Regions from separate parts of the Homo sapiens genome. Here all the other regions are linked to region 1. The links are contacts of gene promoters, found by promoter capture Hi-C in blood cells and fetal thymus (Javierre and others, 2016). All regions are on one chromosome and are shown on one strand. Each heading gives the region's core, a stretch centred on a gene start or on the middle of the fragment in contact. The rest is flanking DNA. Distances are from core to core; before and after follow the strand shown. Region 1 holds the start of KRT71 (keratin 71). Region 2 has its middle 5.1 kb from the start of KRT4. Region 3 has its middle 16 kb from the start of KRT78.

Region 1 (3,778 bases), core at 964-3,463:
GGTTAAGGAAGAGAAACTTTGTTTAAAAATTTGGGGTCAGCAGAAAAGAGTGTTAGCTCTGGCTTGTAGGTGTGACATTCTTCAGGCCCCTCAGGAAGAAATTTAGAACAAAGAGTGGTGGTCAGAGCTCAGTGCCCAGTGTCCCTTCATCTGAGGTCTATGTGCCCAGGCATCCCTTTTGGTGGGGTTTGGGTTTCTGACAAACAACTCTGGGACATATGTTAAGGTGCTATCTTTAGTTTCTATGGCGGAACCAAACATCCCACGATTCCAGCTTTCGTGGCTGTTGTTTTGGGCTACTGTTATCTTCTTGCTTGTCAGGTTGCTTATTTATTTCTCCAGGCTAGCAAGGTGCCCAGAATTTCCCTTGAAGGAACTCAAGATTGTCCTTTATTTCCATGCTTGAGGGGACCTGAAGGCCCCTACGAGGGCGTCCCTGCTCCATCTCAGAGTGCACTAGGTGGTCTCTAATCTGGAGAAGACTCTGCTAGCCTTACAAAGAAAAACTAAGATGACATGTGACATGGCTTCAGAGGATCCCCATGGGAGCTGTCACAGAGTTGCAGCCCCACCAGCACATGCTAAGGATGTGTTCAGAGCGGAGGGAGGTAAGGAGAGCTCAGACCTGGCCTGTGTGGGTGCAGGAAGACCTCCTGGAGGAGAGCAGGATGGGGAAGTGACAGAACAAGAGATGGCGAAAGGCTGAGAGGGAAGGATGGAGGGAAGATGGATGGGAGGGATGAGGAGGGATGGAGAGAGAAGGTGAGAAAGAGAGAAGGCAGGGATAGGAAAATTCGGGTAGTTTCAGTAAGAGCAAAGAAGACAAAATGGCAGGGGCAAGAGTAGAGGAAGGAATGCAGAGGATTGGGAGGGACTGGAGTCCAGGCTCTTCCCCTAAACAATATGAGAGAGAGCCCCAAACCAGCCTGTCTCCAGATTTTCTTCCCTCCTGTGCCCCACCCAGCAAAGAGCTGCTGTTCACCCATGGGGCTCCAGCAGGGATCTCTGGGCAAGGGTGATCTTCAGGGACAGAGCTGCCTTGGGTTGAATAGGGCCACAGTGGCAATGGCGATCATGGGAGTAGCTGGGGCCCAACACAGGAGCCAGTGGCTAGGAAGCAGGGGCTGCAGCCAGAGTCTCTGGGGCTGGCATCAAAGGACTGTTTGGAGTAGAATGACATCGTGCTTACTGGGTCGCCCCCATTGGGTCTTTCTGGTCTGAGCCTGCCTGGAGGCTTGCACTCCTGGGGAGGGCTCAGCCAGCCTTGTTCTTGGCTCACTTGGGCCTGGACAGAGGCAATAGGAGTTAAGTTTCATGTTGATAACAGCTTCTTTATTTGAACTCTAAACAGATGATTACTGTCCTCAAGTTGTTCCTAGTCTTATTAGCAGATACACATTGGAGGAGAGACAGAAATGAGGAAGTGGACCACCCAGGAATCTCCATAACCCTCCAGGCCATGGGCCAGCCTCTGTCTTTGTCTTCTCTGTACCTCCTTCCAGTCAAGTCCCTGAATTTCTCAGCCACCTGCCCCAACTCCATCCTCCTTTTCTCGTCCTCATTTTCTCCAGTGTTTGAAGCCTCCAGCCTGCTTTATTATGGGTGTTTGAGGGGGGAGAAGTGAGGATAGTGCCCGTGGTTGGCTCTGGCCTGGGCTGCTTCTGTCCCATGCTAGCGAGAGGGTCACTCCACCTCCTAATACCCCATGAGTGAGAGCAGCTGCCCTCTATGGGTTATGTTTCCAGGAGGCCTGGGGAGAGGTAATGCCTGATCAGTCCCTTTCCAGGAAGGAGGAGAACAGAAGTTGGAGGCCCCAGTACTCTACCCAGTGTCCTGAACTATCCAGGAAAGTCCATCCTGTCTTCACCTGCTGCATCCCCAGGAGGAAGCCAACAACCCAGAGAAGATTAATCAGGATAGGGATGGTGCAGTGCCAGTGACATCCCCCTGGAGAGGCCAGGGCCTGGGGCAAATTACCCTATAACAGCAGGTTAATTAGATAAGACCCAAATTACATGAGCAAAGCTTGCAAGCCCAGCAATTTGAAGGTTTCATGTTGTTTCAGAGGTGGAGAGGGCTTGATCTCTAGCTCAGCATAGAGAAAATGACTTCTTGCTCCCAGGCAAGCCAAACCCACGAATTAAGCTCTTGACTGCCCATCCACAAGCCCCAGTGCCAAGCACATATAAAGGCACCTGCCAGTCCTCACTACAACCAGCAGAACCTTTTGGGATTTTGCCTTCCTCCCTCCTGCATCTGAGCTTTGTCTCCACCAGCAACATGAGCCGCCAATTCACCTGCAAGTCGGGAGCTGCCGCCAAGGGGGGCTTCAGTGGCTGCTCAGCTGTGCTCTCAGGGGGCAGCTCATCCTCCTTCCGGGCAGGGAGCAAAGGGCTCAGTGGGGGCTTTGGCAGCCGGAGCCTCTACAGCCTGGGGGGTGTCCGGAGCCTCAATGTGGCCAGTGGCAGCGGGAAGAGTGGAGGCTATGGATTTGGCCGGGGCCGGGCCAGTGGCTTTGCTGGAAGCATGTTTGGCAGTGTGGCCCTGGGGCCTGTGTGCCCAACTGTATGCCCACCTGGAGGCATCCACCAGGTTACCGTCAATGAGAGCCTCCTGGCCCCCCTCAACGTGGAGCTGGACCCCGAGATCCAGAAAGTGCGTGCCCAGGAGCGAGAGCAGATCAAGGCTCTGAACAACAAGTTCGCCTCCTTCATCGACAAGGTGGGTCTTCTAGGGCCTGGGGAACTTGTGAACAGCCCTCCTCTTCTCTTCTTGGAACATACGATTTTGTTACAGCAGGAGAGATTGAGGTTAGATGTGAGGAAGACTTTACTGTGGACAAGGTAGGTACATCCCATCAACAGGGTGACCTGTGTAAGGTTCTCTGTGTTGTCTTTCCAGAGAGAAAACAGAGGCAGGTCAATTTCTACTGGCAGAGGCTTCTCAGGGCTCCCAGCAAGAGATGTGGTCCTTCCTCTTGAGGGCTAGCTTGGTGCCATTGCTAGGCCTGCAGGCCGTGTGCAGAAAAGGCCTGTGAGAGCCAGTCTCGCCCAGAGTAAGCAGGGAAGCTGTCCTCCTCCCCTGGCATGCTGCCCTGCCCACTGGTCACTTGCCCAGCGGATCAGGAGCAGCAGGAAGGGGCCGCTTCAGGCCCTCTGATTGGGCATTTGCTCCAGTCAGTTGAAGACTTTCTTGAGAGGCAGAAGAGGGCACTGGGGAAGGGGACTCCACGGTGCTCTTGTGCTCACTGCTGGCCACAGCTGAGTGGCTCTGGGAAGGTGATCTGCCTGTCTGTGTTGCCATCTCCTCATCTCTAAAATGGAGATAATAACTTCTGTCTTGGGGTTGTTGTCAGGCTTATAAAAGAAAATGCAGGTGAAGATCTTGTCACAAGCCTGACGCACACTAAATACTCCAAAAATGATTGTGATTGTGACTCTCATTTCTTATCTCTGGAATGTGGGGGAGGGAAGCTCAGGGGAGGAATCAAAGGTGTCTAGAGACCTGAAGAGATGACACAGTCCAGATAGGCCCCTGACTTCTGGCAGAGAAGAAATGATTATCCCTATCGTATGAGTCACTGAAGGCATGGAGGTAAATGGCATTCCCAGGGTCATTTGGGGAAAGGGAAGGGTGAGGCTGGACCCTCAGCCTTTTGCCTCCAGACCCAGAGGAGGAGACTGGAGGGTTCTGTTGGCTCTGTGGCAGTCAGGCACCAAGGACGGGTCAACCCAGGACAAAGTCTATGGGTGAGACGGTCATGTGGCCATCAGAGCTT
Region 2 (3,613 bases), core at 410-2,909, 270 kb before region 1:
CTCTCTGAGCCTTAGTTTCCTCCTTTGTAAAAGTGGGTTGTGATAAGAACATGTGTAAAGCATCTGGCTTATAGAGGCCCTTTCAGGAATCAGGTTTCTTTGCTTTCCCACTCCCTGACTTCTGGATTCCCAGCTTATCCTCTTGGCCTCAGTGATGTCTCTCTCAGCCCCCACATCCAGTCGGCAAGAAAAATCCACACTTAATTGGGTTTTGTGGTTTACACATACATTACTTTGCCTGTGACCATCACCACAGCCCTAGGTTCAGTAGTGGGCATGTGGTGTTCCAGTTTACAGGTGAGGCGATTCACGCTCACAGAAGTGACCTCTCATGCTGTAGTCATCCAGCTGGCTGGAGGTGGGTCAGTAGTGTCCAGGGCTGCAATTTCAAGCCCTCTGTCCTGTCACCCCAGAAGCTACCTCCGTCCTACTCCTGCCTCCATCACTCGCCAAATCTTACTGCTCCTCCCTCCATGCGTCTCTTGGTATCACCTTCTTTCCTCTTCATCTCCACAGTTCTCTACTTTGAGTCTGGACCCCACTCCTCAAGCTGTACCCAAGTGATTCCCCAATTGGCTGGCCTCTCAACCCTGCACCTCTCAGGCCCTCCCCACCCTGCTACCAAACCAGTTGGCCCGACCCGAGGCTGTCACCACTCCGCTCCCTTCCTTGGCAACCTTAGGGCTCCTGGCAGTTGCTGGGATGCATCCCACACTCTTCCGGCCTGATCACTCTGTCCTCCTCAGAGGAGCCCCGAAGAGCCCTGAGAAAGCTTCCTCCAGGGCTGTGGAAGGCCAGCAGAGGGATTTTCAGCCAAACCCTAACCTCCAGCTTAGGAACACAAAGGCCTAGCGGTTTAGGGTCAGCTCTGCCTCACCAGCTTGGGTGGTCTCTAGCTTCCCTTCTCAGACAGATGGAGTATAGTCCACCCCATGTACAACACTTTGAGGAATACTTGCTAATGCTCACTGAGTGCCAACTGTGTGCCAGAACTGCTGTCAAGCCTTTAACTGATTCTCTTCACAACAGCCTATAATATAAATACTATTATCATTCTAATTTTGCCTATAAGGAAAATAAGGCACAGAGTGGTTAAGTAACTTGCCTAAGGTCACACAGCTAGGAAGTAGCAGAGCTAGGTGTGGAATCCAAGCAATCTGGTTCCATAGCCCAAGCTCTTAAGCACCAGGTTATTTTGCTTATATAGAAAAAGGAATGGAGACCTGGGGATGCTGGAGCTAGAAGGGGCATTGGATGTAATCGACTCCAAACTTTTTATTTCATAGATAAGAAAACAGGTTGAGGAAGGGGAAGAATGTATCCAAAGCCACGGTAACTTAGTGGCAGTGTTAAAAAAAAAATCAGTTTTAGTGAGATCATAGGCCAGGTGTTGTGGCTCCTGCCTGTAATTCCAGCACTTTGGGAGGCTGAGGCAGGTGGATCACTTGAGCCCAGGAGTTCAAGACAAGCCTGGCAACATGGTGAGACTCTGCCTCTACAAAAAAATACAAAAATTAGCTGGGTTTGATAATGCATACCTGTAGTCCCAGCTACTTGGGAGGCTGAGGTGGGAGGATCACTTGAGGCTGTTGAGGCTGCGGTGAGCTGTGATTGCACCATTGCACTCCAGCCTGGGTGACAGAGGGAGACCCTGTCTCAAAAAAATTATATTTAGGGCTCAAAAACTGAACAATAGAAACTTTTGATTGTCATGGAAAAAAGCCTCAGAGATTATACTGCAGCCCAGGGGGGCCCACCAACAATAATGCGCTGCTTAGACATACTTGTCGAAGGAGGGGAATGGCCCAGACCCAGGGGTTTCCAAACTGAGGACCCTAAGGGCTGCTTTCAGGGGTGCAGGGGGAGGTCAGCAGGTGAGAAGGATCATGGTCCCTCCTCTGCACCAACTGGATCATCTCTCCTTATCTGTTTTACTCATGAGGCTGTGCACGTGATTTTGTTTATGAGGGTGCTTTTGCTGCCAGAACATGCTGGGAAGCCCCTGCCTGTATATGCCTGGGGTAGGAGGCCAGCAGGGGCAGCTCTCCGGCCCGGGGAAAGAGGAGCCCCTGGGTACAGACCCCCATACCTGGCTCTCAGGAGTGCCCGTCCTCTCATTGCCCTCACTGGCCTCTCCCTAAAACGCTGATGGCCCTTTTCTGCAGAATCTCTGATCCCCGTGTTGTCTCTGGTTCCCCAAGAATGACTCAGGCCCGGTGGGGCAGTTGAGGTTGGGTGACCGAATGGAGTGAGGGTGCCCGCCTGGCCAGGGAGGGCAGGAGCACTTTCCCACACCACACAGTGGGTTTGGAGATGAGAGTGACAGAAGCCCTCAGGATCCCTTAATCCCAGGGCTGAATGTAAGGGCTTGCCTCCCTTACCCAGAAAGCCCTGAGCAAACACTCCCTCCGCCTGGCTCCACACCCCTGTCGGCTGCTCATCCCTCTGTGAAAAGATTGGGAACAGCTGCCAAACAAGGAAGGGTCACCGAGGGCAGTAGCAGAATCTGCGTGTGGAGGTCTGGGGAGGGGCAGGGGACAAGCTTCCAGCTGTGGCTGCTGGGTAGTGGCGCCTTGTTCAGCCACCTGCCTCTGGCCCACATATGAAGGCAATGTCTTTCCCCGTTTTCAGGGAAAGAAACTCATCTCTCTTTCTCTCTCACTCTAGGGTGTAAAGGCGCTCTTGCATAGGAAGTTCTTCCTTAGGTCTACCTTCGGTTTCTCAGGCTCAGTTTGAAGATTTTGTGAGCTTCTTGCAATTCTGATTTAATAATAAGGACACAGAATGTGGCTCTAGACTAGAACTTTCTTCTTGTTTGGATTGGGTTTATGGTAGGGTTTGTCATGAAATTAATTTGGATTTAGTTAATTGGAGGATACAAAACTGGCCCCTCAGGACAGTGTCATACCTTATTGGGTACTTGTAAGGACAGGGCCACATCAACCAAGCAACTGACCATGTGCTGAGGGTAAGGACAAAAAGGAGCGGAGCTGCATCTGCAGAGCTTGCAGCCTGCTGGCCAGACCCCATGGCTGTCTTGGTGGACCATGAGGTACAGGGCTGTATAAGTTGCTGTGTATTTTTTTCCCTGCATATTCTGTGTGGGCCAGTCACTCATATAAAACATTATACCTACCGTTTTATACATTGTAAGGTCACAAGCTTTGAAGTCAGACAGATAGTACTGACTTCCTATCTCTACCACTTCCTGGCTGTGTGATCTCAGGCAAGTTACATACCCCTCTGAGCCTCAATATCTGCAGCTCCAAACTGGACATAGCAAAGCACCTCTTTGACTGGGTTGTTGGAAGAAGCACCTAGTGTTCAGCATATAACAGTAGTTCCAAGAGAGAATCCCTTCTACCCAAGAGGCACCGCTGCCTTTCCTTCATCTTCCTTCTTGTATCAGCGATGGCACACCTCAAGTCACCTTCATGAGAAGTACCTCAATCGTAGCTCCATGGTTTGGGTGCCCCACAGGCACAAAATAAGACTGATTACATATTCTATATTGTTTCCCTGAAAATCCCCTTGGCTCCTGGCTTGCTTTTTGTTCTAAGCAGTAGACACAACTCTAGGGGCAGTGAACCCATGCCATTTTCTCCTAGTGTTG
Region 3 (3,541 bases), core at 161-2,660, 310 kb before region 1:
GTTTCTCCATGTTGGTCAGGCTGGTCTCGAACTTCTGACCTCAGGTGATCCACCCGCCTCAGCTTTCCAAAGTGCTGGGATTACAGGCATGAGCCACCACGCCCGGATTTTTTGTTTTTCTTTTAGACTGAGTCTTGCTCTGTCACCCAGGTTGGAGTGCAGTGGGGCGATCTTGGCTCACTGCAACCCGAGCCTCCCAGGTTCAAGTGATTCTTGTGCCTCAGTCTCCTGAATAGCTGGGGTTACAGGTGCCTGCCACCACGCCTGGCTAATTTTTGTATTTGTAGTAGAGATGGGGTTTTGCCATGTTGGCCAGGCTGGTCTCGAACTCCTGACCTCAGGTAATTCACCCGCCTCAGCATCCCAAAGTGCTGGGATTACAGGCATGAGCCACCATGCCTGGCCGATTATCCCCTTATGATAGCTGGAAAATGGAGGAAGGCACAGAGAGGTTAAGTCGCTAGCTTGAGGCCGCATGGCTAGGCCGTAGTGAAGACAGTGTCTGAACCCATAGTGTCAGACCCCTGATCTGATCTTGACCATCAGCCCCTAGGGCCCCTCTCTCCCTGATCCTCAGCCTCATTTTGTGTTCTGCCCAAGGCGTCTCCAGGATCCCAAGAGAGCTTCCGAGAGAGTCTATGCACTGTGAATTTTCCCAGGTTGGCCCAGGGCCTACTTGGACTTCTCAAGGTCTAGAAAAAGGCCTGGGAATCACCAGCGCTCTGAGTCCCCATTTGGGGGCCTCTGGCCTTATCCCCACATCAGGCACCAGGGAGGTGGTGGCACAGAAGAGGCTTCCAGGAAGATCATGAACTGCCCCTTGCTTCCATTCCAGGCGTCCAGCCCAGCTCCCAGGCATCTGGGTTGCAAGAATCCTGGCCACCTGCAGGGGGAGTCAAGAGTGGGAGAAACTGGCTCCTGCTCCTGCTCCTGCTTGCAAGGAAATACCGGGAATGGGTCTGGGCCCTGGAAAATCCTGGACAGGTGTCTGAGAGCAGGACTGGATTAAACTGGGCTGCCTGGTGAACCACCATCTCTGGCTCCTATGGACTCCAGTGTGTGTATGCGTGATCGTGTGCCTGTGCGTGTGTGTGTCTGTGATCAGATGAGGTTTCTAGACCAAGGCTCAGATCTCCTCTGGGGAAGATATCAGGCAGTGGACTTGTGAAAACCCCTGAGAATCTTGCAAGAGAATATTCTGAGCCTTTCACAGTAATCTAAGGATGTGTTTATTGACAGATATGGGGGGAAAGCCTGCTTAAATTCATATGTGTAATATGATCCCACTTATGGGAAATATATATATATATATATATATATATATATTTTTTTTTTTTTTTTTTTTTTTTTTTTTTTTTTTTTTGAGACAGAGTCTCACTCTGTTGCCCAGGCTGGAATGCAGTGGCACAATCTTGGCTTACCGCAACCTCTGCCTCCTGGATTCAAGCAATTCTCCTGCCTCAGCCTCCTGAGTAGCTGGGATTACAGGCGTGCGCCACCATGACTGGCTAATTTTATATTTTTAGTAGATATAAAAACTATATTTTTATATTTTAGTAGGGTTTCACCATGTTGGTCAGGCTGGTCTCGAACTCCTGACCTCGTATTGTGATCCACCTATCCCAGCCTCCTAAAGTGTTGGGATTACAGGTGTGAGCCACTGTGCCTGGCTTTTTTTTTTTTTTTTTTTGAGATGGAGACTCACTCTGTCACCCAGGCTGGAGTGCAATGGCATGATCTCAGCTCACTGCAACCTCTGCCTCCCTGGTTCAAATGATTCTCCTGCTTCAGCTTCCCCAGTAGCTGAGATTATAGGCACCCGTCACCATGTCTGGCTAATTTTTGTATTTTTAGTAGAGACAGGGTTTCACCATGTTGGCCAGGCTGGCCTCGAACTCCTGACCTCAAGTGATCCACCTGCCTCGGCCTCCCAAAGTGCTGGGATTACAGGAGTGAGCCACCACACTGGGCCTGGAAATACGTATTAATATGAATAGATGATGCATCTATTGCAGTAGAATATACTGCTATATGAGACACATGAGTATGGTCACACATTGCATAACAAGGTCTCTGTTGTATGTATGGTGCATATATGACAATGGTTCCATACATTATAATGGAACTGAAAAATTCCTCTTGCCTATTGACATCGTAGCCATCATAATGTATCAAAAGGCATTACTCACGTGTTTGTGAAGATGCTGGTGTAAAAAACCTACTGTGCTGCCAATTGTATCAATATATAGCACATGAAATTACATACAGTACATATTATTACTTGATCATGGTAGTAAAGGACTATGTTACTGGCTTGTATATTTACTCTACTTTTTATCATTATCTTAGAATGTATTCCTTCTACTTTTTTTTTTTTTTTTGAGATGGAGTCTCGCTCTGTTGCCCAGGCCGGAGTGCAATGGCGTGATCTCGGCTCACTGCAACTTCTGCCTCCTGGGTTCAAGCGATTCTCTTGCCTCAGCCTCCTGAGTAGCTGGGACTACAGGCATGTGCCACCATATCTGGCTAATTTTCTGCATTTTTAGTAGAGACGGGGTTTCACTGTGCTAGCCAGGATGGTCTCGACTCCTGACCTCGTGATCCGCCCACCTCGGCCTCCCAAAGTGCTGGGATTACAGGCGTGAGCCACTGCGCCCGGCCCTTCTACTTATTTATGTTTTTTTTAGAGGCAGGGTCTCACTCTGCTGTCCAGGCTGGAGTGCATTGGTGCAATCATAGCTCAATGCAGCCTTAACCTCCCGGGCTCAAGTGATCCTCCCACCTCAGTCTTCCAAGTAACTGGGACTATAGGTGTGTGCCACCATGCCCAGCTAATTTTTGATTTTTTGTAGAGACAGAGTCTCACTATGTTGCTTAGGCTGGCCTCAAACTCTTGGACTCAAGCCATCCTCCTGCCTTGCCCTCCCAAAGTGCTGGGATTACAGGCATGAGCCACTGCACTCAGCAATGATCTGTTTTGTTTACTGCTATATCTCCGTTGTTAGAATAGTGCCTGGCACATAGTAAGTGTCCAATAAATATGCGCTGACTGAATAAATTGAAAGATATTTGTATATAGAAACACCTGGAAGGTTAAATACTAAAATGTAAATAGTGGCTACTTCTAGGTGACAGTATTTTAGAAGAGTTTTCTTTTTTCTGATTTTATTTTATTGTCTGTTGATTTAACATTTTTAATTCTGAATATTATTTATATAAAGAGAAGGAAGCACCACAAGGCTTAGGATCTTCTCCCTCTACATCTTTTTTTTTTTTTTTTTGAGTTGGAGTCTCACTCTGTTACCCAGACTGGAGTGCAATGGTGCGATTTCGGCTCACTGCAAACTGCCTCTTGGGTTCAAGAAATTCTCCTGCCTCAGCCTCCTGAGTAGCTGGGAATAGGGGCCTGCACCACCACGCCTGGCTAACTTTTTGGTATTTTTAGTAGAGACGGGGTTTCACCATATTGGTTAGGCTGGTCTTGAACTCATGATCTCAGGTGATCCACCCACCTCGGCCTCCCAAAGTGCTGGGATTACAG

What was found. Contacts are between HindIII fragments. The CHiCAGO score rates a contact against its expected background, and 5 or more counts as called.
Region 2: a contact is called between a fragment that was not itself captured here and the fragment with the promoter of KRT71 in region 1, in 8 of 17 cell types (endothelial precursors, naive CD4 T cells, total CD8 T cells and 5 more). The highest score is 8.0, in endothelial precursors.
Region 3: a contact is called between a fragment that was not itself captured here and the fragment with the promoter of KRT71 in region 1, in 9 of 17 cell types (endothelial precursors, naive CD4 T cells, total CD8 T cells and 6 more). The highest score is 9.4, in endothelial precursors.

What each region holds. Positions count from the first base shown.
Region 1 is chr12:52,551,580-52,555,357 of GRCh38, reverse strand. It overlaps KRT71 (keratin 71), which reads left to right and starts at 2,213. Exons shown (of 9, transcript NM_033448.3): 1 at 2,213-2,721. The coding sequence starts at 2,281. The HindIII fragment of the contact is 3,012 bases long and covers 2,028-3,778 here.
Region 2 is chr12:52,817,425-52,821,037 of GRCh38, reverse strand. No RefSeq gene overlaps it. Among named protein-coding and RNA genes, the nearest start is that of KRT4, 5.1 kb to the right of the region's middle. RefSeq lists an enhancer at 2,318-2,819. The HindIII fragment of the contact is 1,770 bases long and covers 775-2,544 here.
Region 3 is chr12:52,862,864-52,866,404 of GRCh38, reverse strand. No RefSeq gene overlaps it. Among named protein-coding and RNA genes, the nearest start is that of KRT78, 16 kb to the right of the region's middle. The HindIII fragment of the contact is 5,339 bases long and covers 1-3,541 here.